2 separate regions of the Homo sapiens genome follow, and region 1 is linked to region 2. The links are contacts of gene promoters, found by promoter capture Hi-C in human tissues and cell types (Jung and others, 2019). All regions are on one chromosome and are shown on one strand. Each heading gives the region's core, a stretch centred on a gene start or on the middle of the fragment in contact. The rest is flanking DNA. Distances are from core to core; before and after follow the strand shown. Region 1 overlaps SCNN1G (sodium channel epithelial 1 subunit gamma). Region 2 holds the start of COG7 (component of oligomeric golgi complex 7).

Region 1 (2,939 bases), core at 73-2,572, 260 kb before region 2:
AAACTACTCATTAAAAACAAGGTAGTTGGCCAGGCATGGTGGTTCACGCCTCTAAATCCCAGCACTTTGGGAGGCTGGGGTGGGTGGATCACTTGAGGCTAGGAGTTCAAGACCAGCCTGGCTAACATAGCGAGACCCCGTCTCTACTAAAAATACAAAACTTAGCCAGGCATGGTGGTGCATGCCTGTAGTCCCAGCTATTCAGGAGACTGAGGCAGAAGAATCGCTTGAACCCGGGAGGCGGAGGTTGCAATAAGCCAAGATTGCACTACTGCACTCAAGCCTGGGCTGCAGAGTGAGACTCTTGTCTCAAAAAAAAAAAAAAAAAAAAAAAAAAAACCCAACCCACAAGGTATTAGATTGGCACAAAAGTAATTGCTGTTTTTGTCATATGGTGTGCCTATAACCTAACCTTGTATATTACCATCATGCATACTGATGACTAAGAACCATCGTTCTAAGGAAGGAAGGAAGAGATGGAGGGAGGGATGGGAGGAGAAAGGCCCATGTTCAAATATGTGAGATTTCAAACCTTTCACCTTTATGATAACACTCAGATCCCTTATAGTGACTGAGCAGTGGGTGAGACATTCTAAAGTGTTCCTGGGCTGGGCACAGTGGCTCACGCTTGTAATGCCAGCACTTTGGGAGGCTGAGGAAGATGATTGCTTGAGCTCAGGAGTTCGAGACCAGCCTGGGCAATGTGGCAAAACCTCCTTTCTACAAAAAAAATTCAAAAACTTATCTGGGCATAATGGCACACACCTGTAGTCCCAGCTACTCAGGAGGCTGAGGTGGGAAGATTGCTTGAGTCTGGGAGGTTGAGGCTGCAGTGAGCCATAATTGCGCCACTGCACTTCAGCCTGGGCAAAAGAGCAAGACCCTATCTCAGAAATAAAAATACAATACAATACAATAAAATAAAACACTAAGCCTCTTTCACCTATCTGTATATGTTAGCAGACAGATTGGTTCTTGTGAAAAGTAAATAACTGGAATCATGTCTCCCTAAGAGTTGGGTTCCAAAGTCATGTAAGGGCACAGATGATGCCCTGGGGATTATTTTCTAGGACTGAGAATTTTAATGGAAAATGTCAAGTGTTGGCTGAGAAATTCAAAAGTGGAGGAATTTGGGGACAGACATGGCACAAAGAATGTCAAGTCAGGATAGAGATGAAGGTGAGAAGATTCCGAGAGAAAACAGAAGGCAGAGAGTCTAGTTCTATGTCCATGTGTGTCAACCAGGATGAGGGGCCTTGTTTGTCATTTGATCAGGAGCAAGATGGGGAAAATGAGTCACATCTCTCACACATTCTCCCCAAAGAGAGTTGGCTCCATTAGCACTGCCCTGCCCAACTTCAGCTAAGATGCATGGGGGAGATCCCTTTCTGACCCATTTTCTTCCTCCATAGGAATTTCACGCTTTTCCACCACCCGATGCATGGGAATTGCTATACTTTCAACAACAGAGAAAATGAGACCATTCTCAGCACCTCCATGGGGGGCAGCGAATATGGTAAGGAAACCTGTGCCAAGGAGATCTTGAGGCCCTCCAATAGTGGACATGGGGGCAGCAGGACAGTGGGGATGCGGGAGCCCTCTGGAAAAGCGGGATCTCTCCCACTTGGCCAGAAACCAGGGATGCCCCTTTTTCTATCAGTGTTTCCATCAGTGTTCATGCTGGTTCCTTCCTTCCAAGTTAGTGTTTGTTTTCCTTTTTGACTTTTCTTCCATCTTTGAGAGAGCGACAGGGACATCACTGGGGTTCCTTCTGCTAGGGAACTACTCTGGTTTAAACTCATAGCTAGGGTGAGTAATGCAGGACAGGTGGTTTCCAAAGGGAGTTGAGCCCAGATATGCTGAACAGATTAGGGAAGTAGACGCACATTTATCTTAGTTCAGGTGACAGATTCTGGACGGAGCCGAAACCCAGCTTGGCCACTCACTGTGTGACCTTGGGCAAGTTACTGCGCTTCGTCTATAAAGCGGGACTAATAATAGTATCTCCCATGTGAGATTACTGACAGGACTTAAGATACAGACTTAGAATAAGACCTGCTCTGCACTCTGTTAGTCTGCTTGGACCGCCATAACAAAATACCAGAGACTGGGTGCCTTGGACAGTAGACATTTATTTATCACAGTTTTGGAGACTAGAAAGTCTAAGATCAAGGCACAGGCAGACTCGGTTCTGGTGAGGCTTCTCTCTTTGGGTTGCAGAAGGCTGGCTGTCTTCTCTCCATGTCCTCAGATGGCCTTTCCTCTGTGGTGTGTCAACAGAGAGAGGCCTGTGATGTCTCTTCCTCTTCTGATCAGGACATCAATCCTATCAGATTAGAGCCCCCTGCTTGTGACTTCCTTTCACCTTAATTAAAGTCCTATCTCAAAATAATATCCCTTTGGGGGTTAGGGCTTCAACATATGAATTTGAGGCAGAAAACAATTCAGCCATAACACATACCAAGCACACAATAAGTGCTAGTTGCTATTGTTATTACTGCTATTATTACCGTTACTAGCATTGCTACCAGTCTACCACCATTGCTGCTGCTGCTACTACCCTCAAAATAATACCACTGCAATTTCCAGCACTACTATTCCACTATGATTACATTTCTAGGGAAGGTAGGAACTGAACAGATTGGCCTGGCTTATGCCCAAAAGGAATTCTTGAAAGGTCCCATGCAAATTGAAAATGATGTGATATGTAGATATACTCGCACCAGGACAAGGGAGGGCCTGTCATAAAGGAAATCCACACTTGGAATCCTGGCCTTTGTCCCTGTGTAGTCTGTGCTCTTACTAAGTCTGCAAGAAATCATAATTCAGTGCACATATTTCATGGGGAAGAAGTAATCTGGAAACTGAAAGTGAAAAGTTGCAGAGTACTGGCTCTGCTATGGAGGGGCTGTGTGACCTCAAGCAATTCACTTCCCCTC
Region 2 (2,919 bases), core at 162-2,661:
CCTCAGCTGAAATAAAATCCACTAAAACAATGTTTTCTAGATCTGTGTCATTCTCTTATACCTATACTATAATACGTTTTTTCCAGATATATGGATCTGTTGGCTATTCTTTCATACTCTCAAAATTCACTTTTTTTTTCTTTTTACAGTTTATTGTTTGGTACAAAACAGGCTCTTTAACTCTTTGAATAAACACCTCACAGACTCGTGCTCCTAGATTACAAAAAGTCAAAGCCAATTTTCTTTGACACTGGGCTCTTGACTCTGAGATTCAAGTCACTATAACAGAAACTGGAGTTGTTTTATCTTATATTCTGGAAGGTGCCTCAACAAAGACATGTTAAGAACTGGTTAAAACTTCTAGCATTTAAAAAGATCCATCTTGTCTTCCAGTGCCTATGGATAATAATAAAAAGGGAATCCCAGAGATCTGCTATTGAATTATTTAGAGAAGAGCTACTGCAATAAGATCCACTCTTTTAAGTTCCAAAAGGAAACTTCAGGCCAGATGTGGTGGCTCACAGGTATAATCACAGTACTTTGGGAGGCCAAGACTGGAAAACCCATTATGCCCAGGAATTTGAATTTGAGACCAGCCTGGCAACACAGTGAGATCCCATCTCTACAATTTTTTTTTTAAACAGAATTTGTGGGGCGCGGTGGCTCGCGCCTGTAGTCCTAGCGACTCGAGAGGCGAGAGGATCGCTTGAGTGCAGGAGTTCGAGGCTGCAGTGAGCTATGATCGAGCCACTGTAGAGAGACCCTGTTTCAAAAGAAAAAACAAAGAGAAAGAAAGAAAAGAAAAAGGAAACTTATAGCCCAGCCAGAGGAGGAAAAACAACACCCAAAATTAGCAAGTGTTCAAGACAGCCCGGCACCCAGCTGAGACTCCCGCTGACGTGATCAGGAGTTCGGGGCTTGCTCTTTTGCCGAGGGTATTTGCTGTCCATGCGTGCCCCGCCCACCTGAGTGCCTCACGCAAGTTCGGTGACCTCTGCCCAGCCGAGAGCAGGGGAGGGTCCCGCGGCCAGGGCCCCGAGCGGCTCACCCTCCACGGCGTGGTTCACCTCTTGGATGAACAGCTGCAGCTTCATCACCAGGGTGGCTGCGTGGCCATCCGCCTTCCCGGACGCCGCCTCCTTGGAGCCGGCCCTGAAGGCCGCATTGATCCACTCCTTCACGTCGAAGTCGTCTGCCAGGAACTTGGAGAAGTCCATGGCGGAACTGCCTCAGGCCTGGCGTCCAGAACTTAAGAGTTGGCTCCGGGCGGCAACGGGGATGCAGAAGCGAGCGAGCCTGCGAGAGCACCGAGGCTAGCCTCCGAGGCGAACCCCAGAAACGCCAGGACGGGTAACTTGCCCCTTTGCGCTTCCCCGCTCAGCGCACTCAGTTTGCGGCTGGGAATGACCCTCGCCGCCCGCCGTTCTTCTTCCGGAAGTCGTTGGCCGTTACCATAGTGACTGCAGGCGTCCGGAGCGCTGAGCAGAGGTGGGTGTGGGAAAACGCCCCGGACTGAGAGCTCCCGGCACCGACAAATATCCCATGTCTGCTAACATTTGCCGAGGACTAAACTATATGCTTACTATAAAGCCCTGACATACATTAGCGCATTTACGCGGTGGCTCGCGCCTGTAATCCCAGCTCTTTAGGAAGCTGACGCGGGAGAATCGCTTGAGGCCAGGAGTTCTAGGACAGCCTGGGCAACAGTGGAGCGCAGTGGGCAGCAATGGAGTGCAATTGAACGATCTCTGCTCACTACAGCCTCAAATTCCTGGGCAATTGAACGATCTCAGCTCACTGCAGCCTCAAATTTCTGGGCTCCAGCGATCCTCCCACCTCAGCCTCCAGAGTAGCTGGGACTACAGGCGCGCGACAACACGCCCGGCTATTTCTTTCTTTTTCTTTCTTTCTTTATTTTTTTCTGAGACGGAGTCTTGCTCTGTCGCCCAGGTTGGAGCGAAGTGACGCGATCTCGGCTCACTGCAACCTCCGCCTCCCAGGTTCAAGCGAGTGTCTTGCCTCAGCCTCCCGAGTAGCTGGGATTACAGGCGCGTGCCACCACGCCCGGCTACTTTTTGTATTATTAGTAGAGATGGGGTTTCACCACGCTGGCCAGGCTGGCCTCAAACTCCCAACCTCAGGTGATCCGCCTGCCTCGGCCTCCCAAAGTGTTGGGATCACAGGCGTGAGTCACCGCGCCTGGCCTAACTAATTATTTTCTTAATGATGTGTTTTGAGGTGCAGACCTTTTAAAGTTTGTTAAGTTCCTTATCACCTTTTTTTATGGATCATGCTTTTGGTGTTGCGGCTGAGAAATCTGTGCATAACCCATAATCACAAACAATTTCTCAGCCTGGGCAACATAGGAAGACCCCGTCTCTGCAAAAAAATTAAAAATTAGCTGAGTGTGGTGGCGCACACCTGTAGTCTCAGCTACTCGAGAGGCTGGGGTGAGAGGATTGCCTGAGCCCAGGAGGTCGAGGCTGCAGTGAGCTGTGATCACGCCACTGCACTCCAGCCTGGGTGACAGAGCGAGACCCTGTCTCGAAAAGAAAAGAAGAAAAGGTAGGGGAAGGTATGAGGGTATTCTTTAGGTTCTAAGTTTTTATGTTGTTTCAAGAGTGGGACCAACCCAAGGGGGAGGACAAGATGTCATCCTTGGAAACCCTACAGGGGACAGTTTTCCAGGTTGGCCTGCCATTGGGGTATGAGTGGCTGGCTGCCATCTCCAGGCCTGATAGTCACTCGTTTTTCATTGGCATCTCCCTTGGTTTGTCTCATTCTTCTGGGTTGAGTAGGTTTTAACTGGGGTAACCCTTCTGCTAGGAGTCCCAGTTATTTGGGGGGAGGGGAGAGGAGGGAAGGAGAGAGGAGGGGAGCAATGCAGGGAGGGGAGACGAGGGGAGCAATCTGATAGTG

Evidence for each region. Contacts are between HindIII fragments. The study calls those that stand out against the background at their distance.
Region 1: a contact is called between a fragment that was not itself captured here and the fragment with the promoter of COG7 in region 2, in 1 of the 25 tissues and cell types used here (lymphoblastoid cells).

What each region holds. Positions count from the first base shown.
Region 1 is chr16:23,192,759-23,195,697 of GRCh38, forward strand. It overlaps SCNN1G (sodium channel epithelial 1 subunit gamma), which reads left to right. Exons shown (of 13, transcript NM_001039.4): 5 at 1,413-1,516. Among named protein-coding and RNA genes, the nearest start is that of SCNN1G, 11 kb to the left of the region's middle. The HindIII fragment of the contact is 5,798 bases long and covers 1-2,939 here.
Region 2 is chr16:23,451,778-23,454,696 of GRCh38, forward strand. COG7 (component of oligomeric golgi complex 7) reads right to left here and starts at 1,412. Exons shown (of 17, transcript NM_153603.4): 1 at 1,049-1,412. The coding sequence starts at 1,217. It overlaps LOC124903667 (a long non-coding RNA gene), which reads left to right and starts at 966. Exons shown (of 2, transcript XR_007065030.1): 1 at 966-1,488. RefSeq lists enhancers at 1,072-1,401, 1,692-1,741. The HindIII fragment of the contact is 22,477 bases long and covers 1-2,919 here.